Regions from separate parts of the Homo sapiens genome. Here all the other regions are linked to region 4. The links are contacts of gene promoters, found by promoter capture Hi-C in blood cells and fetal thymus (Javierre and others, 2016). All regions are on one chromosome and are shown on one strand. The core of a region is centred on a gene start or on the middle of the fragment in contact, and the rest is flanking DNA. Distances in the headings are between cores, read along the strand shown.

The links. Contacts are between HindIII fragments. The CHiCAGO score rates a contact against its expected background, and 5 or more counts as called.
Region 1: a fragment that was not itself captured here is called in contact with the fragment with the promoter of ADRA1B in region 4 in 6 of 17 cell types (M2 macrophages, endothelial precursors, M0 macrophages and 3 more); the score reaches 17.3 in M2 macrophages.
Region 2: a contact is called between a fragment that was not itself captured here and the fragment with the promoter of ADRA1B in region 4, in 1 of 17 cell types (M2 macrophages). The highest score is 5.1, in M2 macrophages.
Region 3: a contact is called between a fragment that was not itself captured here and the fragment with the promoter of ADRA1B in region 4, in 3 of 17 cell types (megakaryocytes, M0 macrophages and endothelial precursors). The highest score is 6.5, in megakaryocytes.
Region 5: a fragment that was not itself captured here is called in contact with the fragment with the promoter of ADRA1B in region 4 in 6 of 17 cell types (M0 macrophages, M1 macrophages, megakaryocytes and 3 more); the score reaches 7.3 in M0 macrophages.
Region 6: a fragment that was not itself captured here is called in contact with the fragment with the promoter of ADRA1B in region 4 in 8 of 17 cell types (megakaryocytes, M2 macrophages, M1 macrophages and 5 more); the score reaches 12.5 in megakaryocytes.
Region 7: a fragment that was not itself captured here is called in contact with the fragment with the promoter of ADRA1B in region 4 in 7 of 17 cell types (M1 macrophages, endothelial precursors, M2 macrophages and 4 more); the score reaches 11.2 in M1 macrophages.

Annotation. Positions count from the first base shown.
Region 1 is chr5:159,528,679-159,531,915 of GRCh38, reverse strand. The region is part of intron 2 of LOC105377684 (a long non-coding RNA gene); the gene reads right to left. Among named protein-coding and RNA genes, the nearest start is that of LINC01845, 64 kb to the right of the region's middle. The HindIII fragment of the contact is 5,826 bases long and covers 1-3,237 here.
Region 2 is chr5:159,413,818-159,416,862 of GRCh38, reverse strand. No RefSeq gene overlaps it. Among named protein-coding and RNA genes, the nearest start is that of LINC01845, 51 kb to the left of the region's middle. The HindIII fragment of the contact is 5,285 bases long and covers 1-3,045 here.
Region 3 is chr5:159,563,934-159,567,319 of GRCh38, reverse strand. LOC105377684 (a long non-coding RNA gene) reads right to left here. Exons shown (of 20, transcript XR_941139.3): 5 at 127-248. Among named protein-coding and RNA genes, the nearest start is that of LINC01845, 99 kb to the right of the region's middle. The HindIII fragment of the contact is 1,241 bases long and covers 1,110-2,350 here.
Region 4 is chr5:159,914,718-159,917,950 of GRCh38, reverse strand. It overlaps ADRA1B (adrenoceptor alpha 1B), which reads right to left and starts at 1,469. Exons shown (of 2, transcript NM_000679.4): 1 at 97-1,469. The coding sequence starts at 1,045. RefSeq lists enhancers at 279-895, 896-1,512 and a silencer at 1,576-1,635. The HindIII fragment of the contact is 3,740 bases long and covers 1-3,209 here.
Region 5 is chr5:159,475,099-159,478,357 of GRCh38, reverse strand. No RefSeq gene overlaps it. Among named protein-coding and RNA genes, the nearest start is that of LINC01845, 10 kb to the right of the region's middle. The HindIII fragment of the contact is 875 bases long and covers 1,463-2,337 here.
Region 6 is chr5:159,493,881-159,497,014 of GRCh38, reverse strand. No RefSeq gene overlaps it. Among named protein-coding and RNA genes, the nearest start is that of LINC01845, 29 kb to the right of the region's middle. The HindIII fragment of the contact is 2,908 bases long and covers 425-3,134 here.
Region 7 is chr5:159,547,523-159,550,778 of GRCh38, reverse strand. The region is part of intron 2 of LOC105377684 (a long non-coding RNA gene); the gene reads right to left. Among named protein-coding and RNA genes, the nearest start is that of LINC01845, 83 kb to the right of the region's middle. The HindIII fragment of the contact is 1,473 bases long and covers 550-2,022 here.

The sequences.
Region 1 (3,237 bases), core at 87-2,586, 390 kb after region 4:
TAAAAGAAGTCCAGGATCCTTGGCAAAGTGACTCATTTCATGTCTGGGGCAGGTAATGTGCAAAATGAGCCTGGAGAATCTGTCATATCAAAAAGCAAGGAAACTATAAAAAATTACTAGGATTCTGTCAAATGAACTCAGGAGCCAATATGAAGAGACTCCTACTGGCCAAAAATGAGATAATTTGAGAATTAATAACTTACAAATGATATCTAGTATGTTTAAATCCATGATATTTAAAAACATCCATAGTCACCCTTAGAAGTTGCTGCAGAACCAGCACATTATTTAGAGAACTGGTGAAAAAAAAAAAAGAAGGTAAAGGGTAAAGAATTGAATATTAATCATGTTTTTCTATGAGAATTATGCCTCAGCATAATCATGAGAGAAAGTTTCTCTGTAGAGAAGCATTCTACCTAATTAACAAAAAAAGGCAGAATATAGAATTAGTCTATCACCATTTTGCAATTCCTAATGAATTAATGCACCTAAGCAATGACCAGTGACTGCTCACATTTCAGAGAGGGACAATCAAATACAGTGTGCCTTCTGCTAGATAAAGAGAGCACCACCGATGAAGTAGCCTTGCCAAAAGAAATTGATAGTGAATTTAATCAAAATTCAACATCCAACTACTGATTGACAGAAAACACAGGGGACCAGGAATCTGTTAAATATCACCACAAAGATGTCATCAGCAAGATCAAGATGTGGGAAACTCTGCAGGACAACCCACCCAGTTTCTTTTCCAAAATACTGGTGAGGAAAATTATTTAAAGAGAGAAATGAGACAGAACCTGTAGATTACAAGGGACCTAAGAGATGCAGTAATCAATTACAACGTACGGGCCTTGTGTGGACCCTGACTCAAATGAACAAACAAAAACAAATAACAACATCTTTTTATAAGACAAGTAGGGAAAAGTGAACAAACATCTATTATATTATTTTTTTGATGATATCAAATAATCATATAATGTATGATGCATCATAATTACAAATCCATTTGTAATTATTAATATTTTTAAGTGTGATAATGCCATGACTGTGCTTTTTTTTTTTCAAGAGCGCCTATCTTTTAAAAAATAAAACTAAGATATTTACCTACGAAGTTATATGCTGTCTAGGATTTGCTTCATAGTAATGCAGGGGGAGAGAGGTTGGGGAAACAGATGACGTAAGACTGGCCGTGAGCTGATAATTGTTGGAGCTGATGGTAAAATGGTAACTTTCACTAGTTTACTTATAGATAAGTTTGATATTTTCTCCAATAGAAAGGGTAAAAGCAAAACTCTCACAGTGCCACTGATGGAGAATCCTAGATGCATGGCCCTTGTTTGTGTGGCCACCTTGGGACGGCATAGGCTGATAAAGAAACCGTGGTCTCCTCTCCTCGATCCCGTTCACAGCCATTGATCTCCAGAGGAGTCATGGTCTCTCTCCTCCCCCAGGGTACAAGCAGTGCAAAATGAGAGGCCTGAGAGCAAGCACCAACATTATATTCTCAGCTGCAGAAATCAATATTCCTCTTCAGAGCCTGAGGTGGGAGAAGGCGCCTGGCACCTAGTCTGAACTGCAGCTCTGAGGGCAAAAAGCGAGTTGTGTTGGCCTCACTTTCTTTGCCTTTCCTTGAGAGTGCTACAGATTCCCTTTCAGAGCTCAGATGCCCGCAGGTTGGTGTAGACTACTTATAGATTTCCACAGGCTCCCAGGGCCGGAGGGGCTGACAGGCGTGGAACTGGCCACAGCACAGGGCCATTTCTTTCCCAGTCTTGATAGATCTCCTCAGAGTTTTCTCCATCTCCATATTCATCGCCACCACCTGTGTGGTCTACTGCAGAGTGTCCTAGCCAATCTCCCTCCTCCTTTCGTTCTCTGCTCCTCCCAGCTACTACCTAGCCCTCCGAACCATTTGATTCTCCACATTGTAGTCAAGGTGACTTTTTCAGAGCCCAAAACTTATTAAACCAACCTGCTCTGGCTTCAAACCCATTGCTCTGAGGCTGAAGACTCAGATACTCAATGTGGTTTCAAAGATCTATACCATCTACCCTTCACTGGCCTTATCCCACACTACAACCCTCCATTTTCTTTGTTCCCCAGTCCCTTGTCTTTCTTGTCACAGAGTTTTTCTCATGCCATCATTTATTCATTTAGCAAATATTAGTCAAGGATCTACCATGTGCTAGGCATACATACAACTTAAATAACTTTACTGATTCTTCAGATGTCAGCCCTAGTGCTCCTTTATCAGGTAACTCTCCTCGACATTCTTGATTATGACTTTGTTCCCCTGTTTTATGCTCTTCTGGCATTGAGCATATCCCTTTGTAGTCCTTCTACTTACACTTTTAGTGGTGTGGATAATTGATTTCTTCTTCCCCCCACTAAACTATAAGCTCATGGGAGCAAAGATTATGTATGATTCTGTTCACCATTCATATCCCCAGGCACCTAGCACTGTGCCTGGCACACAGTAGATTTTGGTAGACTAAAGCTGGCTGCACATTTTTTTCAACTCGTCATCAAAGGATGGAGTCTATTTTGCTTCCCCTTGAATCTGGGGTGGCTCCATGACTTGTTTTGATCACTAGAATACTACAGAAATGACACTGTGCAACTCCTGAGGATGGGCCTTAAAAGACCTGTAACCTCTGCCTCTGCCTTGGCCACTTACAGAGTTTCTTTCAGGAATCTAGCAGACATCCTGTGAGGAAGCCCAAACAGCTCTGTGGAGGGACTCACATAAGAGAGAAACAAGGCCCTTGTTTGAACAACTGGTATCTAAGTGCCCCACCCAACACCATGAGAAGAAGAATCTCCCATTTAACCCATAAGGTCTTGAAAAATTGATTATTATTTTAGTACACCAAGTTTTGGAGTGCTTTGTTAGCAACCATAGGTCAGCAAAAAAAAAAAAAAAAATAGAGGTTCAAAAAAATACATGGAAAATCAATAAATAGTCCATTGTTCTTTGAGTCTTATTCAGTCCATAGTGCATATGTGGAACCTCTACATAATGTTAGAGCCCTGGAAGAGCGTGGTCATAAAATGTGGAAGTCTTCATGGAAGGAATGGAAAAACTACTCAGTCAAAAGCCCAGAATTGAAGAGATCCCACCCACTGGGAAAACAATGTAAGGCAAGCAAAGCAGACTGACTGTCATTCTGATGTTCTGTGGGGAGCCCTGGGACTCAGCAAAACCACACTCTGCTCTCCCAGGGCTCTCTGCAGGTC
Region 2 (3,045 bases), core at 22-2,521, 500 kb after region 4:
GCACTAGAGAAAAACCTCTAATTTTAGTTGGTCTGGTGAGTTACTCCAACCTTCTCCCTGTAACCAGTTGCAGAAATAAACTCCCTTCTTTCCCAGTCTGTCTGCATCTCCTTATTGGACCGCGAGAACAGACAGCAGGACCTCGTTCTGTCCGGGAACAGTGTGGCTCATTATACTGTTTAAATATTTACTATCTGGCCCTTACAAAAAAGTTTACCAACCTGTAGCTAATCTATGCTTCTCAAACAACAAGATCCAGGCTGAGATCCAAGCGGGAGATATCTGAATCCACATGGTCAACGTTGTGTATCTTCTTGGAGCATCAATTTTACTAGAAGACTAGGAAGAAAAAATAGTTAACAGACTATACATGTAGACATTTAATAGACATTAAAGCAAACACATTTATATTATGGAGTAGAATCCAACATTTTGAATGAAATTATGAGTTAAAATTCCAAATGTGACCAAAATTTCAAGCATAGGGAGGCCTCTACACATTGTTTCTGTTCCTTTACTGTTAAAAATATTTTTGTATAGCCGGGCACGGTGGCGGATCACCTGAGGTCAGGAGTTTGAGAACAGCCTGGCCAACATGGTGAAACCCCCTCTCTACTAAAAATACAAAAATTATCGGGGGGTGGTGGTGTGCGCCTGTAATCCCAGCTACTCGGGAGGCTGAGGCAGGAGTATCGCGGAGGTTGCAGGGAGCCGAGATCACGTCACTGCACTCCAGCCTGGGGGACAAGAGTGAGACTTCTGTCTCAAAAATAATAATAATAATAATAATAATACATAAGTGAAATATTTTTGTATAAAATTTTAGAAAACACCCATGTATGCTATTTAATTTGTGGTGGAAGTGTTGCAGAATTTTGCTCCTTAGTTCAACTAAAACCGGGTTCTTGTCACACAACCAGGAAGAATGAGGCGCGCGGACATACTGAAGGGTGCTTAGAGAGGAATTTGTTGGGCAAAAAGGAAAAAAGGAAAAAGAAACTCTCAGCAAAGCAAGAAGGAATTCTGCCAGTGGGCTCCCATCTCACAGCCTGAACACCAGGCCACCACACAGAAACTGAAGAGGCCAGACTCCTCCCTCCTGCAAAGAGTGTGAACTCCCCCTGGTTCCACCCCGTTCTCCCAGTGAGCAGGCCAGTCGGAGATTCTCCGGGGACCCCTTTTTATCTGCCTAGGAATTTGGCCATCTCAGAAGTACATTTCTTCTGAGTCTTTGTATTCTTGCCACTTCTGGCACGGTGCTTGACTATAAGAACTCCAGAAGGGCTGGCATTATTTATTAACATAAATCCTAAAAGGTCTTTACCCGTCAGAACGGCTTAGAGGAGTTCCGCATGTAGGCGGAGAGATACACCAGATGACTCTGCCTGCAGAGGTCTCATACTCTGTGGCTTATTAGTGCCTGTATTGTCACTATGGCAACAAAAAGTCTAATAAGATCTAGTTAAATTAATAATATTCATAGCAATGTCATCACTAATATAAAATTCAAATTAGTTCTTCCTGAGCTGAAAACAGAAACAATCTTTATATGAATGAACTAGTGATAACCTCGCTGTTTTGTTTTTTGTTTTTTGTTTTATTTGCCTTTTTCTTTTCCTTTAACTGATTTATGTATTTTGTAGGAGAATGGAGATATTAGAAAGTTTACCGTGTCCTTGACTACCGGCCCAACCACTATTACCATCCCACCCCATATCTCTCATCCCAAAGCATCTCCCTGACTTCTGAGGTCTGAACAATCAGTTGCAACAGTGACCACTGGGTTTTGTTGTCTGTTGTTATCTTTGTTTTGTTTTTGAATGCAAATGTGCCTAGGAAAGGATAACATGTAAAGTTACCAATCTCTTCTTAAGACTCGGCAGATGGCTTTGGCATTGGTTGAGGATGGGGTGAAGAAAGGCAGTCCCAGCCTCTGAATCAGAGTCAGGTCTGAGGCCAAACCCCCAATTCTGCCATTGACTTGCTGAGCTACTCTCAGTAATTACTTGCCACTGCTGCACCTTCATTTTTCTTTCCTGTAATATAAAAGCTGGAAACTAGGTGTTCTCCAAGAGCTTTTCCAGCTGTAAAATTCTACAGTTCAAGGCAGCATAATTAATGGAAAAATCAAGGGCACAACCACACGGATAAAAATTCAGAAAGATAAACCTTTGGGAGGCTGAGGCGGGCGGATCACGAGGTCAGGAGATCGAGACCATCCTGGCTAACACGGTGAAACCCCTTCTCTACTAAAAATACAGAAAATTAGCGGGCGTGGAGGCGGGCGCCTGTAGTCCCAGCTACTCGGAAGGCTGAGGCAAGAGAATGGCGTGAACCTGGGGGGCGGAGCTTGCAGTGAGCCGAGATGGCACCACTGCACTGCAGCCTGGGCGACAGAGCGAGAATCTGTCTCAAAATAAATAAATAAATAAAATAAACCTGATTGGAAAAGGTTACAGAATCACTTGTACAGCATAAAACCACTTTAACTTTTTAATTTAATTTTTGGAATAGGTAACATAGTCCATCCACATGGGCTATCTCAAAAAAAATTAAGAAATATATTTAAAAATCTTCTCCCATACCTCATACCGCCCCTCTTTCCACATCCCACATGCAAAACTGCTATTAGGTTTTGCATGTAAACTTTCAGTTTCTTTATGCATATGCAAAAAAAAATTAATACATAGGCTTATTTTCCCCTTCATTAGCACAAAATACAGCATGCTATATATATTCTTCTGCATCTTGCTTTTTTTTCCACTTCACATGTATTTGAAAACTTTCCATATTAGTACAGAGAGTGCCTTCATTCTCATTTACAACTGCATATGATTCCGTTACAACGATGCACCATACTTATTTAATCACTCCCTGTTAATGAATATGTGAACTATTTCTGGTCTTTTTATTACAAGCAATACTGCAATGAATAACCTTGAACACATGCAGTTTTGAACATGTGTAAACATATACTTATCTATAGATAAATTATAAGAAATGGGATTTCTTTTATAATTTTGTGCATTTGCCATTTGCTTTTTT
Region 3 (3,386 bases), core at 481-2,980, 350 kb after region 4:
CCCATTCCCTGCCACAAGCCCAAAGAGCAAAGGCAATGTCACCACGAGCTGTTTGACACCATGCTCATCATATATCATGCCAAGGGGAGAAAAGAGTCATGGTCTCTGTGAACTGTAAAAACTTACTCCAGAAATGTGGTCACTTGGCGGCTTTTTGGATTGCCTCACTTTTTCTCCCCAGATGGGCTTTTCTTCAGAATTGTTTTCCAAGTGGCAGCTTGTGTTTATTCTACTGGGCTTTTGGAGAACTTAGGAAAAGGAAAAATCAACAAAGTGTAGTTATGCACATGGAAGACCATATGCTTCATAAAACTGCATATGTGCTGTGTTTAAGATGTAAAGGAAGATATGCAAAAAGCCACCTGCCAACTTCCCAATCCACCTCGATTAAAAAACTCAGAAAGCCCATGTTCATAGTCAAAACCTACAGTGATGCCTTAAATTTCACAGACTGTTAAACCTGAAAGTTGAAAGTGCTATTCAAGGTTGCAAATACCAGTTCCCACAGGGCTGCAGGCAGGTAACAGAAATGAGTGAAGTGGGCCAGAAGGGATGGTCGGTGTAGAAATGGGAGTGAGGACCTTGCCTTTAGACAATTGTTGCCAAACGAAAACACAAAGAAAGCTAGAAATCCACATTATTTTATGAATTTTCCTCAATTTTTCAATGTTATTGAATTATTCAGATTTAGTCTAAAACATTCTGTAAACAATATACTCCACTAAGATTTGATCCAAGGGCTTCCAGTGTGAGACTTCTATTCTAGAAAAATTTCACTGTTAATTTTTTTTTTTTTTAAGACAGCATCTCACTCTGTCACCCAGGCTGGAGTACAGTGGCACAATCATGGCTCACTGCAACCTTGACCTCCCCAGGTGCATGCGATTCTCCTATTTCAGCCTCCCGAGTAGCTGTGACTACAGGTGTGTGCCACCAGGCCTGGTTAATTTTTGTATTCTTTTGGTAGAGACAGGGTCTTGGCATGTTGCCCAGGCTGGTCTCAAACTCCTGCGCTCAAGTGATCCACCCACTTCGACCTCCCAAAGTGCTAGGATTACAGGCATGAGCCACCATGCCCAGCCTCATTCTTAATTAATAATATAGAAGCTTGAGTAAACAAAGACACTTTCTCAAAGTCACACTGATTGTAAATACCAAAGGTGTCACCAGGGCTCAGCTCTTCTAACTTTTAGCCTGCTATTTTCCTCCTAACTCTGGTTTTGCACAACCTGCTTTAACTTGCAAGGTTTTATATACAGGTATTCAGATGGTCAATTTCATTGTGCTTTTGTCCCGACTGTTTTTCGTTTACCCTTCAAGATCCATTCTGCACCCTTCTTGATCTGTGTTTCAGGAGGCTGGCCTGTGTAGACTAGGTCAAAGAACTTCTTTGCTCTCTGGCTTTTAGCTGAGTCTGGCCAATGGGAGGTCTCAACAGGAGTTCAGAGGGAAGGTAGGTGGAGAGTGAAAATGGTGTGCTTATTCTCCTTGCTTCTTTCCTATTTCCTTCCATTAAGGGCTTCTCCGTGGGGCTTATTTCTCGGAGTTTCAGTAATGGCACCCTCTCCTTGCCCCTTCAGACTTGAGGATAGTAATGGAGCAAAAGTTTACGATGTGGGTCTCCACACGCTGCTCTGCCTGCCTGAGTGGGAGCTGCAAGTTAGTCCTGACTTCTGTCGGCCGTTTCCCTCCCAGAGTTGGTAGTAGTGGCTCCCTGTGGTTAGGTCCAGGGCGCTGTATTGTTCCTTGCTGGTTTCCCCAAATTCTGTCCACACGTTTGTAAACGGTCTCTTCATTAAAACCTCTTTGGTTACCCAGTGGAAGTAACATGACCACCACATGCTTTGCCTAATGAGAGTCTCCCTTAGTATTGAGAATCTTGTCTCCTGAGAAATCCCTCCGTGCTGGGCAAACCAACTTATGCATGAGTCCTATTTATATATTTCTTTTGAATTTTCTGCTTCTTGTATCATACTACTTCTTCTATCTTTAATAATTTTAAATGCTCTTATTTTATAGTCTCATAAAGATATTTCTATTATTTCGAATCTTTAAGGTGCTAATTATCCTTTTGAAGCATTTAGTATCTTCCTTATGATGGTAAATTTCTGGGTGTGAGTACTTCATGCCCTGATTTGTAAAAATGTCCCAACAATTCAGTTTCACAATTTCCCCTATTATATCCTAGGGGTTTCATAGACTTAGGCAATCTATGCTAACTTATCACTGGTATACATTTAGATACCATGCCCATATGTGGCCCAGACCTGGGGTTTTGATTTTTTGGACACAGCTTCTTTTTCTTTTTTTTTTTTTTTTTTTAACTGGGGTTCTAGATGGGTGGCAAGCTTACTTGCTTCTTTCCTGGACTCAGATGTGGAGTTTTTGTAGTCACCATCCCACGGACAATGCAACTTTTCAAGGCTCATGGCTTTATGCTGAAGCTTAGTTCTATTTTCCCTACCTAGCAAGGGCTTGAGGCCACATTTCCTGTACCCCAGTGGGTGTTAAATCCCCAACCTTCAGCTCTTAGGGCTTATATCTGGGTCAGAAAATTTTGCTGAAATACCAACTCTCCATTACTGCCCTGGCTTTGATTTCTCTCTTCAATTCTTGTACCTGGGGATTTTTTTTTTCTTTTATGCCGGAATATTTTTAAAAATTCTATTTCTATTTTTTATTCATCCTTTGTACAAGTTTGCTCTGCCATATTATCAGAACCAAAGATCACTTTGAAACACTGAAGTTCATGTCCAGCATAAAGTTGAGGTAAACTATGTGTTCCTGCTTCTGTCTTGCATAGTCACTAACAAAATCCAGCTGACAAATTAAGGCCAAAATAGAGCGAGTCTGAGGGGCCCAGACTTGGATACCTAACGGAGTGTGAGTCATTTCGGATATTAATCTAGCCTCATTTACAGTGATTGGCACCAGGAGGCAAGGTGGAAATGAAATATTCATTGCCCATTCAATATTACCTAATTTGTATGTCTAAGTGTTGACAAAAGAGAAGCCTTTGCTGTCTACTTTATGAGTAATTGTAAATTAATATGCAACCCTGCACCCATTCCAGGGAGAAGAGAATCACTTGGATTTGCCAACTGTTCAACAGCACGGCCTGGTTTTATCTGCAGATGTCACCCATCCCACCTCCCACTGTTGGAAACCAGTGGGAACAGAGAGACTTCCTAAGAGAAGTGCCTTTGGATAATGTCATAGAATCTTGAATCTAAGAATCTTAAATAATCCAGATTAAAAGCAACATTAAATATTATGTTTCAACTTAATAAATGAGGAAGATGAGGCACAACTTGTATTTCAGGTACAGATATTTCCTCAAATTCTTCCAAGCACTTTTGCAGCACTGCCAAACATTGTCATTTTGC
Region 4 (3,233 bases), core at 220-2,719:
TAAGAAACAAAACCCACAAAAAACTTTAGAGTAAGCTCATCAGTAAACCCAAGGTCCAAAAATGCCCAGTCCCCCTGCTGCTAGTCCCCAACTTACCAAGCGGTAGAGCGATGAAGAAGGGTAGCCAGCACAAGATGAACATACCGACCACAATGCCCAACGTCTTAGCTGCTTTCTTTTCCCTGGAGAACTTAAAAAGTTTGACAGCTATGGAACTCCTGGGGTTGTGGCCCTTGGCCTTGGTACTGCTAAGGGTGTCCTCGTGAAAGTTCTTGGAATGGATCCTCAGGGTCAGCTCCTTGGAGTTGGACATCTCCTTCATGACTCCTGCCTCTAGGTTCTTGGTGGTTCTCTTGGCCACTATATAGACACGGCAGTACATGACTAGAATGACCGCCAGAGGGATGTAGAAGGAGCCCAGAGAGGAGAAGAGGGCATAGAAGGGTTCTTCGGTGACCCCGCACTCCTTGTCATCGTTGGGTGCCGGCTCCTTCCACCCAAGGAGAGGCCCGATGGAGATGACGGTGGACAAGACCCAGACACTGAGCAGCGCCAAGATGGCCTTCCTCCGGGTGACCAGCGTGGGATACTGCAGAGAGTAGCGCACCCCGATGTAGCGATCGATGGAGATGGCGCACAGGCTCAGAATGGACGCTGTGCAGCACAGGACATCCACGGCTGCCCAGATGTCACAGAAGATCCGCCCCAGCACCCAGTAGCCGAGCACCTCTAGGGCCGCTGAGAAGGGCAGGACGGTGAAGCTCAACAGCAGGTCGGCCATGGCCAGGTTGACAATGAAGTAGTTGGTGGGCGTCCGCAGGTGCCGGTTGCAGGCCACAGACAAGATGACTAGGATGTTGCCCACGATGGCAAAGAGGATGAAGGCGCCCAGCACCAGGCCCACAGAGATGGCCCTGGTGATGTCCAGCTGGGGCAGTGTGGAGTTGCTCGAGGTCTGGTTGGGGCCAGTGAAGTTGGCATTTTTCAACTCTCCCCAGTGGGCAGGTGCTGATGTGTTGTGGCCGGTGTCCAGGTCGGGATTCATCTTAGAGTCCGCCCTCCATAGCCAGGGGGATGATTGGGCTCGGAAGGGCTGCGGCGAAGGCTCCTCAGCTGCCCTGAAACTTTGCTTCCCCCGTGGTCTTCTTCCCAGAGGCGCCCTCCTGGCGAGGAGTCATCTCCCCCGGGCAGCCCAGCCCGGCAGCACGTCTCCTGCCTGCACCGAGTCGCTCGCTCGCCTGTCAGAGGGAGGAGGAGGAGGAGAGGGGACGAGGCGGCAGCTCCAAGTTTAATGGTCCACGTCAGGCGCGCCTGGCCGGGCTCGCGGGGGAGCGGCGGGGAGGAGGGGGCGGCAGGGCCGGGGGCGCCCGGCGGTGCCCAGCTCGCTCGGGTCTGCGGACCGCGGCGCGTCCTCCGCCCAGCGAGCGCCGAAGAGGGTCTGCTTTCAATGAGCCGCTTCTGGGCTGACTGCACGGCGGTGACATCAGGCGGGGGAGCCCGGCGCCCTGACTCCGCGCGGCACTAGGGGGCAATGCGGGTCCAGCCAAGGCGCCCGCAGCCCCGACGCCGCCACCCCGCAAGCCGGGAAGCCAGCCGCGTCCCCCGCCGCTCCCAGGGCGCGCCCTCTGCGGGGGGCGGGGCGGGGGCAGGGGCCGCGAGGGCGGGACCTGGGCGTGGAGATCGCGGGTCACCCACCCCTAGGCGGCCCGCTGGGGTTATTTTCCCCGCTAGTCACTCTTCCGTGTCAAAGGTGGGTTGGGGGCTGCTTACCTTTAATAGGGGGCTCCCGGAGTGGGCCCCGGATTTAACGGGATATGCAACTTGTCCAGCACCTAAAAGAGGGAAAGAGAATTCTAGGATTGGGCAGGTGGGAGGGACTTGAGTCGGATCTGAGGCCAGCCCTCATCCTTCATCTGGCTCCCCTCGCCCCGTGCAAACTCTTTGGCCCCAGTAAAATCTGGCTTCTCTTCATCCTTTCATTCGCTCAGGCATTCACTCATTTATTCAGCCGATTCTTACGGAGTCTCCACTCTCTGCCCTGGCTCTGGGCGCTGTGAACATAGCAACTGAACAAAATAGACGGACTCCTGCCCTATAGGAGCGTAGCTTCTCCCGACAGAAGACAGACAGTATACTAAATAAGCAAATGATGAGGTGTGTAATGTGATGACAGGTGTTAGGCTGAAAATAAAGTAAGGAGGGGGAAATGCAGTGGGGTGTTTGTGGGGTGGATTTGAAATGTTAAGTGGGTGCTTGGGATGTCACTGAAGTGATATTTGAGGAAACATGAAGGGAATTGAGGGAGGAAGCTAGCTGGCTATCTGGGAGTGGGGGTGAGGGAGGTCAGAGACCTGGGGAAGGGACGTAGAGGATCTTGGTTATTTGTTGAGTTTTTTCCTTTCTGTCTGATATCCATGTTGGACATTCAGTCACAGGGACGCACTCCCAAAGGTGGGTGAATGGTACTTAGAAGAGAAAGTATGGGCCAAGAAAGAAAGAAAGAAAAAGCCAAAGAACTTTATGTTAGTTCACATTTATCCAACATTTATTTTGTCCTAGACAGTGTGCTGAGTTCTTTTTGCATTTTCTCATGACTCTCATGAGAGAAAGAATACACTCTTCACCATTTCTATTTCATGGATGAGACACCAAATTATGGGGAAGTTTAGCTGTTCGCCCAAGTTCACAAAGGCATGGAGGAGAGCTGCTGGGAACTGAACTCAACTGTGGGGTCTCTCCCAAAGTTGGGTACTCAGCTACTGTGTCATACTTTTCCCCCGGGGCAAGGTAGGGGATGGAACCACTGTTATAGATGGAGCTGCCTTTTGAGTAGTTAATTTTGGGGCCTGAGCCACTGGTGCTGGGCAGGGACTCCCATGAATTGAGCGCTTACTGATAGCCATGCATTTACTCAGTTTCTTTGAGACTTTACAATTCTTTGAGAGAAGCATAACCATTGTTCATTGAGAGATGAGAAACAGTGGTTCAGAGAGAGTCAGTTGATTCCTGAGGTCATAGGCTAGCAAATATATGGCAGAGCAATGGGCAGTGGCAGCTGGAGATTGAAAAGTAAAGCCTGATACCTTCTTTTACTCCAGTTCACAAGCCTGCATCTTGGGTTTCTCACCTTCTGCTCTTGATACTTGTTATAACTTGATATTCACGGGTGGGGAAAACAGAAGTCACTCAGGATGACTTACATCTAAGCTTCTCAACCTAGAGGTAAGCTCTTA
Region 5 (3,259 bases), core at 651-3,150, 440 kb after region 4:
CCAATGTTAAGCAAGCTGAAGGGAAGGCCCAAAGAAATGGAGCCCCTAATTATTCTTCTACTTATAGGTACTGCTATTTCCCCAATGCAAAAAGTTGCAGTTGTGACTAGTAAAACATAACTCGTTAAAAAGTATTACTATTACCCTCTCTAAGGTGGAAAAAATATCCAAGATACAAGTGAAAAAGAGAAATGGAACACAATTTGCATAGTACTATCTAATCATGGGAAAATTAAAAATTATATTTCTGTTATACTACACATAGAAAACAAAGTCCAAAAGAATATTCACTAGACTATTTACAATTAATATGCAGACAGTGAGATTAGAAGATGCTTTTATTTCCCTTTGTTAAACTTAAGTTTAAATTTATCAGAGTAATTTGTATAAAACATCTTTTTAAAAATCAGATAGTTCTACAAGGTTTATACTGGAAAAACAAGATTTCTCATTATTTCTCTTTGTAACCCTTATCTTCTCTCTAGGGCCAATCACTTTCAGCTTTGGGATATTTCTCTTGGTTATTTCCTTCCATATATAAAAATAATGTTTGTAAACCAGTACGTTCTGATTTTTGCATTTCATACCTCATTGATTGACTTTCTACTCTGGTCTTAACATTCCCACACAGATCCCCTTCCTACATACCCTTCCTCTCTCTCTGTTCTCCTAACACATTTATATCATGCTTTTGTTAAGTATTTTTAAAAATACTTAAATGTCCAATACTAGCATTACTAACATTGTAACTAAATTTTCAACATCACCATTCCCAATACTGTAACTATGTATTACTCACTGAAGTGACTATACTATGACTTTATTTTCTTTCTTGTACAACTTTGTGGTTTTTTTCTGGAATTGTCTTTGTTTTTGCTGTCATTGGGATTAACATTATTTTTTGCTTAGTTTTCTGTGTGCCTGTCACTAATTTATCCCCCCAACTCTCCCATGGAGCCCTAAGAATTTCTCTCAATATACCTGAATCCATTAGTAGTCTCTCAGTTCCACTCTTCTTAGGAACATCCACCGTGGAGACTTCCACCTTTTCCCTTCAACCTGTAATGGGTTTCTAGACCTGCCAAACAGCTGTCATTGTGGGCCATCTTTCACCATCAGCCTGGGAATTCCCTTCAGCTCTCTCCTGTATTGGATCCCCCACTTCCAGTATCCCATGATTTTCTATTTGTTGTTTTATTCTCTCAATATGGTTGAACACAAACTGAGAAGAGTTACCATGAGATGTAACATTTTTAAAACCTTACATGTTGGAAAGCATCTTTTAATCCTAACACTTGATTCACAGTTTATCTGGAAAAGCAATTCTAGAATGAAAGTCATTTTCCCTTAGTAATAGAAGGGCACTTCATTGACTTCTAACTTCCAAGGTAGCTGTTTAAAAGTCTCATGCCATTCTGATTTCTCTTTTCTGTATATGACCTATTTCTTCTCTCTGAAAGCTTTAAAACCTCTATTTCTGGCATTCTGGAATTTAACAATATTGTGCTTTGTGAGGGCCCTTTAAATGTCATTGTTTTGAACAGTTTGGTTGATGCTTTCCAGCTAGAAACTCACGTCCATCTGTTGTTGAATATGTTTATTATTTCTTAGGTATTATTTTTTCATTTTGGTTTTTTATTCCCTTTTTTAGAATTTTTATTAAGTAAATGAAAGACCTCCTACATACATCTCCTCTGTTTTCTCTTTGTCTTCTAGCTTTTCTCTCCTCTTTTCTACCTACTTTCAATATTTCCTCTACTTTATCACACAGATCTTTTATTGAAACTTCTATTCTTGTTACCATATTTTTAACTCTCAAGAAGCTCAGTATAAGTAACATCAGCAAAATGGTGAAATAGGAGTTTTCTACGATTATCTCCCCACAGAGCATCACTTTTGACAACGACTAATGGATCATACTACCTTTGTGGGAGTCTGAGAATCCAGCAAAGAAGTTCCAACACACTTTTGGGGAAAAAAAATCTGAGAAAAGCACACTAAAGAGGGTAAGAAAAAAAATTTCACTATACCCATGTCACTCCTCTCCTAGGACAGTACAGCTCAGTACAAAGAGAGAATCTCTCAGCCTGTGATTTCTCCCATGAGAGAAACTGAGAACATAGGAAGTGAGTACCTGGCTTCCCCAGTCATGTGGAATGCTGCCCAAGAGGGCTGCACCTTTCTTTTGCCACTCAAAGTACCATGGTGGTTGGTAGAGCTCAGCAGTTAGGAGAGATTGCGAGTAGAGAAGAGAAGAGACTCATAGCAACCAATACTCAGTATTCAGAAAAGGGATGCAGTTTTTATTAACTGCTTCATGAACTTCATCAGGAAGCTTGTCCAAAACTACTTGGGACAACACACATGCAGACTCCCCAGCTGGCCCACAGGCCTCTGCAATGTTATGCATGCCTCACATATCTCCCCTACCCCCATGCCAGCTTCCCACTTGTGGCCTCATGGACTGAAAGTGTGCATCTCAGCAGGAGGTTTACAAGTACATGCAGACAGACAGCCTGACTTGGCAAGATAGGAAAAAAGTACACAAAGTTGAGTATTTCAGGGCACCATCTTGGGAAAACAAATGAGAGGATCTCAGCACCTGGCTTGGCTCTGCAGGACCAAGAGAAGGCAGAGAATCTTAATAATTCACCCCCCAAGACAGAACAAGAGGTGTGGAGGGGGAATATTCATATAAAAGTTAGGAGAGAGTCTCAGAATCCCTAGTCAGACTGACTGGTGAAGGTGTTTCTCTCTCAAAGCTGGTCAGTAAAGACTAGAGGAGGTAATTGCTTCTTCAAATGCAAAGACAGCAAGGTAACACTTCAGGGAACACAGAAAATAATTGTGACACTAACAAAGGACCATGACACCAACAAAGGAACAATTTTTCAGTAACCACTCCCAAAGGAATGGAGATCTATGAATTCCCTGAAAAAGAATTTGATATAATTGTTTAAAGGAAGCTCAGTGAGCTAGAAGAGAATAACCCTTCTCTTTGTTGAGATAGATAACTCAACATTATCAGAAAAACAACACATGAACAAAACAATGAACTCAACAAAAAGAAATGATTAAAAAAACAATTCTGGAACTGAACAATACAATGAATGAAGTGAAAAATGCAATAGAGGCCTTCAACAGTAGACTCAATCAAGCAGAAAATAAAGAATCTATGAACTCAAAGACAGGTCATTTGAAATTATCCTGTCACAAAAGAAAAAAGAATGAGAAAGAGAAAAGAGAGCCTACAGAATTT
Region 6 (3,134 bases), core at 629-3,128, 420 kb after region 4:
CACTAGAAGCTCGGTAGTATCAAGGGTCTTTCCCAGGGCTGCTTAGCTGCTTAGCCAGTCAGAAAGAGACCTAGGACTAAAACCTAGGTTTATTTCAACACCCCGCCTCATTGCAATGCAGTTTTCTCCCTCTGTATCAGTCAGAGTTCTCCAGAGAAAACAATCAATAGAATAAAATAGAATATATATATATAGAGAGAGAGATTTATTTTCAGAAACTGGCTGACACAAATGTGGCAGCTGGTAAGTCCCAAACCTGTAGGGCAGGCCAGGAAGCTGGAAATTCAAGTAAGAGTTGATGTTGCAGTGTTGAGTCTGAAATCCATAGGACAGGCCAGCAGGTTGGAAACTTGGGCAGGATTTCTAGGCTACAGTCTTAATGCTGAATTTCTTCTCTAGAAAACTTCAGGTTTTGTTCTAAGCTTTCAACTGATTGGATGGGGTTCACCTACAATACGGAGGGTAATCTGCTTTACTTAAAGTTAAATGATTGCAGATGTTAATCACATCTACAAAATACCTTCACAGAGACATCTAGACTAGTATTTGACTAAACCACTGGGTACTGTGGTTGAGCTAAGTCGACACATACAATAAACCTCCTTAGGACATTTTCGTACATCATTGCACTTAAACCGCATAATACCCTGCGAAGGAGGTTGTTGACATTATCGCCATTTTACAGATGAGAAAACCAAAGCTCAAGAGAAAAAGTTACCCACCTGATCTCGCACAGCTCAGGTATCTGAGCCAGGAAACTGCCTCATATTACAGAGACTTCTCAGGGTCCTAAGGATAAAGTATTGACACCTGCATTTGGCATAAACCTATCACAGCTTACACACACTGCAGTGCTCTTCAGCCAGCATTCAAGCAGTTCTTCAGTTACTTAGAGATACCTCTCTGGGCCTTCTTCAAGTCAATTAAGGGATAGGAGTAGGCTCTTTCTGGAAGGATACACGCAAAACATGGAAGGTAAACCAGGTGGCTGGGCGGCAAGGGAAGGGAAAGGACTTTTTACTATATATTCTTTTGTGCCTTTGAAAATGTGAAACATGTGAAAGTGTTGGTTATTAAGTTAATGAAATTAAAATAAAACAATAAATGAATGAATTAATTAAAAGGAACCTACAAGGATCTCAGACTTATGAACACATCATTGCACTTTACTTTGGACACAAGAAAGATGAGGCAGATGCAGCAGCCACCATGTTGGTCAACACTCAGCTCTCAGTGACTTTTGGCTTCTTTCAAAAATCAAAACCACCCCCAAAGAATGAGGATTCGCCACCAATGAGCATATTCAAAGAACGTGCTTCAGGCTCTGAAAAAAATTTCAAGAGGAGTTTGAAAATCCTTTTGAGCCAAAGCAGTATCACTGGAGAAAGTAAACATTACCCTCAAGGTGATGCTTTAAGGAAGAACTCACTAGACTGTATTACTTCCAGTTTCATTCTTTTTCTTTTCTTTTTTGCTTTCTCCCTTTTTTAATCCATCACTGTTTTCCGTGATGCTTCTTTCTCTTTTTTCCCTTCATCCTTGACTCTCTTTCTCTCTCTCTCCCTATCTCCATCTCTCTCTCCTTCCCCTTCTGCCTCCCTCCCTATTCTTCTGCTTATAGCCTCAGGACTTTTTAGGAAATCATTCTCAGTCATGTGGTTTGGATGGGACTACACTTCCTGCTCCAGGATTGGATTATGTGATCCAGGCCTATCCAATCTTTGTAGTTTCACCCTCTTGGCTACAGTGATTGGTTTGGGGATGAGCACATGAGATAAGATGGTACAATCAGAGTGAATACAGGGATTTATGTCGCAGCTTCAGGAAGACAACCCTCTTTTCCACTAGACTTGGACATGAAAGATGCAGACATGGAGACATTGGCAGCCCTCTTGCTGCAATGCTAAGACTGAGAATGAAGGCCAGACAACTGAAATGGAGAGAGACTGGATTTGAAGTCTCTCTCCATTTGAATTGTTTTGTCATGTAAGATAATTAATTTCCTATTTTGCTAAAGTCATCTTGAATTGAGGTTTCTGTCATTTATAACAAAAATCATTTCAATGAATACTATCTGCCAGCAGCAATGTGTACCTCAGATTTGAAAGAAATCTCAGTCTTCCTAAACTCCCCATGAAAATGCAAATACTTTTGACAGAAAGACTTACATAAGCAGTAGAATTTAAGAATTATAAACATAGAGTAGCCTCAAAAATTTCCTTTGGGAAACCACTAATGGTTTTCAAGTTTTATTTCAATAACAGAACCCTTTTTCAAAGAAAATCATACACAGAACTCTAATATATACATATGTCTTCCATGCCAGTTCCACTGTGTAAACTTGTCATGGGAGTTTTGTTAGTTACATATTGTGTCCGCTGACTAGAGCGCTTTTCCTACTCACTGTTTCCCCAATTCACCCTAAGCCAGTTTGCTAAACAAACTCCTATTGCTCTCTGGATAATTCAAATTAAATGTCACTTTAAGATGTCTTCTCTGATGTCTAGGGTTCAGTGCCCCTGCAATGTGCCCCCACATTACTCTGTCCTCTCCCCCATAGCACATAAAACACACAGGCACAATCTCTCATGTCCTGATCTGCCTGCCCACCTGGGAGTCAGCTCTGGGGGTACAAATTTGGTCTTATGCATTGTTGTGTATGACATATGTCATGCCTATAAGTATGTGCTGAATAGTGACATTAATGAGTAAATAAACAAATAAACAAATGGGATTGTGCGCCCCTGATGTAGAAGCCATCTGCTTCTTCAGATCTGAGTTCATAGTTTAACCTCAACTCAGAGGCTGAGGGATAGGGAGGCAGAGTGACACACAGTCTTCCCTCCTTTCCCCACAAACTATCCTTCCCCACTGGCCTTTCTTTGTTTTTAATGATCCTACTTTACAACTTTGTATCTTTGAGTTAAGGGATAGCAGTCACTTCTCAAAGTATGAGTACACTTTGAGTGAGTGACATCAAATCCTGCTAGAATGTAAGCTCCATGAAAGCAAGGATTTGTTTCTCTGTGTTGTACACTGATGTATTTTTTTTACACTGAACAGTGCCTGGCATATAATAGGGACTCTATAAATATTTGTTAAACAGATGAATGAATCAGAGGGCATTCAAGTCA
Region 7 (3,256 bases), core at 37-2,536, 370 kb after region 4:
CTGGTGTCTTGAAGGGTTGGGTATACACTTCTAAGTAAGATCTTTCTTCTAAGGCCTCTAAGATCTTCTCATCTCTAATGTGAAGCAATCCTAGATATTACTAACCCATTGTTAGTGTAACCTTTATTCATTCAGCAACTATTTACAGACCATCCATATGCCAGATATTCTGATAGATGCTGAGGATGCTGTGACAAACCAGATATTGCCCCTGTCCTTACAGTGTGGTAGAAGAGACAATGTTAAACAATCAAATAAACAAATAGAGATGTATAAATGGTGAAAAGAACAGGATGCTATGAGAACACAATGGAGGAGGAACATAGCTTAGACGGAATAGGGAGGACTATAAAGGGTTACAAAAGTCCTCTCTGTAGAAGGGACAATTAAATTGAGGTCTGTGAAGTTAGCCAGGAAAGGAGAAAAGAACATATGAGGTAGAGGGAACAGCCCTGCAAGGACTCTGAGCATGCAAACAGCTTAACCTGCTCAGAGGGATGGAGAGGAGCTCATTGTGGCTGCAGCATGGTGCATTCACACTGGAAAGCTTGTTTGCAATGAGGGAAAAGTCTGAGTTCATCCTTCCACCCAATTTTCAAGATGGTTGACAAGCAAGCCAGAATGATGTATGAAATCTAAATGTCAAAATAAAATGAACTGGATTTAACCCACAGGCTTTCACTGTATTAACATGACATTCTACTAAACTACCAATCAGTTAGAAGGAAGAGAATATTAAGCTCAAATATTCCCCTTCTGCCTACGCTGAAGGACCAGAGGTTAAGTCCAGACATTCAGAGGATCAGAGTTCATTACCCAAAATATCTTCAGATATTAAAGCTAGACAAATTCATGCGAGCTACTCAGCTCCATGCAAGAAAGTATTATAACCATTCAATGATGGCTTTTCTTGTGGTTTCCAATTCACAAATTGTTTCCTCTCTATGCCATTTCCATATATCTATATATGGGTGTATGTGTGTGTATATGTACTCACACATATACATATACCACATAGACACACAAATATTTCAGAATCTAACTTAAAAGTTTTCTGTCCTTGCTGTTTGATCCTTGGTGCCTTGGCCAGAAACCCCAACTAAGCATAGCTCATATGCTACAGTTAAACTTTTTAAAATTTTCATCTCTTAGGTAATTATGAATGGGACAGCAACAGGGGCTCCTGCAATAGCCCACCAGAGGCTTCACAATTGGCATCAACACTTTTTAGGGACAGGCAAGCAGTATTTTAATTTCAATAATGGTTTTTGCCAAAAGCCCTCTATAACTAATTTTGCAGTCAGAGTCCACAAGACCTATTTAGTGTTTGGCTAAATCTCATGGAACATCTCGTTTCCCTTCAGTTTTTCATTAGTTTGGATTAAAAATAAAAAAGCTAACAAACATGGTTTGCATGAATGTTTCCAAATTACACCACACCAGCATTTTCAGAGGTGACCTCACTCCCTTTTCTCCTCATCTGAAACCCCTTAATATCCACAGTCAGTTTGGCAATGCCATCTCCATGCCCTGGAAGAATGTGGCCTGACCTTGCTCCCAGCAAAAGATGTGGAGAATGGCTTGTTCCTTACCACACAGACACTTGGTTTTTATAGTTGCTGTCATCTTTGCAGCTTTTTGATTTGCCAAGAGCTCAGCAAGGAGCATAACCTCATACCAAATAGGTCCCATTTAAGAGCTCTAAATGAAACTAGCAAGCAAAGAGGGGTGGGGTTCAGGAGATGCATGCAGAATGAAAGCATCCTGGAACTATGGGCAGATGAATTATCTTGCAGGATCCACAACTGAGACAGGTGTCTGCAAAATTTTCCATGAAAAAAGGTTGAAAATACTGCATAATCTGCTTTTATGATCTAAGTGCAAGTGATTGTGCTAGGCACTGGCATTACTTTGAATGAAGAGGTGAGTTATTGCTTGCAATTATTCACCACCCACATTCACCCATTGCTGTGTAACTTGTGCTTTCTGGGGATTACTTTGGGCTTGGCCACGTGTCAAGCTTTGGTCAATACAATTAGAACAGGCACGATATGAGCCACATGTAGGCAGAAGCTTTAAGAGGCATTGCCAGTTTCTGTAGATGTTTTGCTTCTCCCCCTCTTCCCTGAGAACTGCATGTCCCAGACAAAGGCTGTTCTCTCCACCAGACCTAGAATGAGAAGACACATGGAACAGAATGCTGCCCAGAACAGAACCACAGCCGACCTGCAGGGGAGCATGAGTGTTACAGGGATGAAAAAATAAATGCTTGTTGCTGAAAGCCTCTGAGATGATTGGGTAGTTTATTAGGTTAGCAAGCCTGATTAATGCACTTATTAATGCAGCAAAACAGACTTGATCACTTCTCTTATGGACCTGATGGTCTAGCCAGGGGAGGCACACAATAAACATATGAGCCAACTAATAATTATTGTAACTACTTATTTTTACATTAGGCAACATCTAATTATGTAACATCTCTTCCATTTACACCAACTCCTCTTCCTCATCCAACCACATGTGGCCCTGAGCCTGCCTTCTTCTGGCTACATTCTCTGAATTGACAACTCCATCTATTCCTATAACTTCCAGAAGCACCTCTCTTCAAATGCCCCTCAAATCTACTTCAGTGGATGACATCCAGACAGAAGACCTCATCCAGCCAGGCACAGCTGGCTTATGACCTCTGGCCTAAACAGACAAGACTTGTGAAAAATTAAAACCACAATTTTGTACCCACAAGATTAGCAAATGTTAAAAAATCCGATCAAATCAAATGTTGCCAAGGAAGTAGAGCAACAGGAACACTCATACTTGGCTGCTGGGAGTGATGATTGGAACAGCTGCTCTGGAAAACAAATTGGCATTATCATAAAAAGATAAAGATATGCATATCTTATTACCTAGCAATTCAATTTCCGCACATATTCTCTAGGGAAATTGTTGCTATTGTTGTACACATGCCAGATCCATATTTCCAACAGACAGCTGGATATCATGTCTGCAGGACCATTTGTAAACTTACACTCACCATGACCAGAACTAAATACATCTATTATCTCTCATGGTTTCTGTGGGCCAGAAATTCAGGAAGTGCTCAGCTGGATGGTTCTTCCCTAGGGTCTATAAATGAGGCTGGTGCTGAAACAGTGAGAGGGGCTGCACGTGTTGGGTCTGTTCAAGGCATTCTCTCTCTCTCTTTCTCTCTCTCTCCCTCTCTGTCTCTCTCTCTCTATCTATCTCCAAGTGTGGTCAC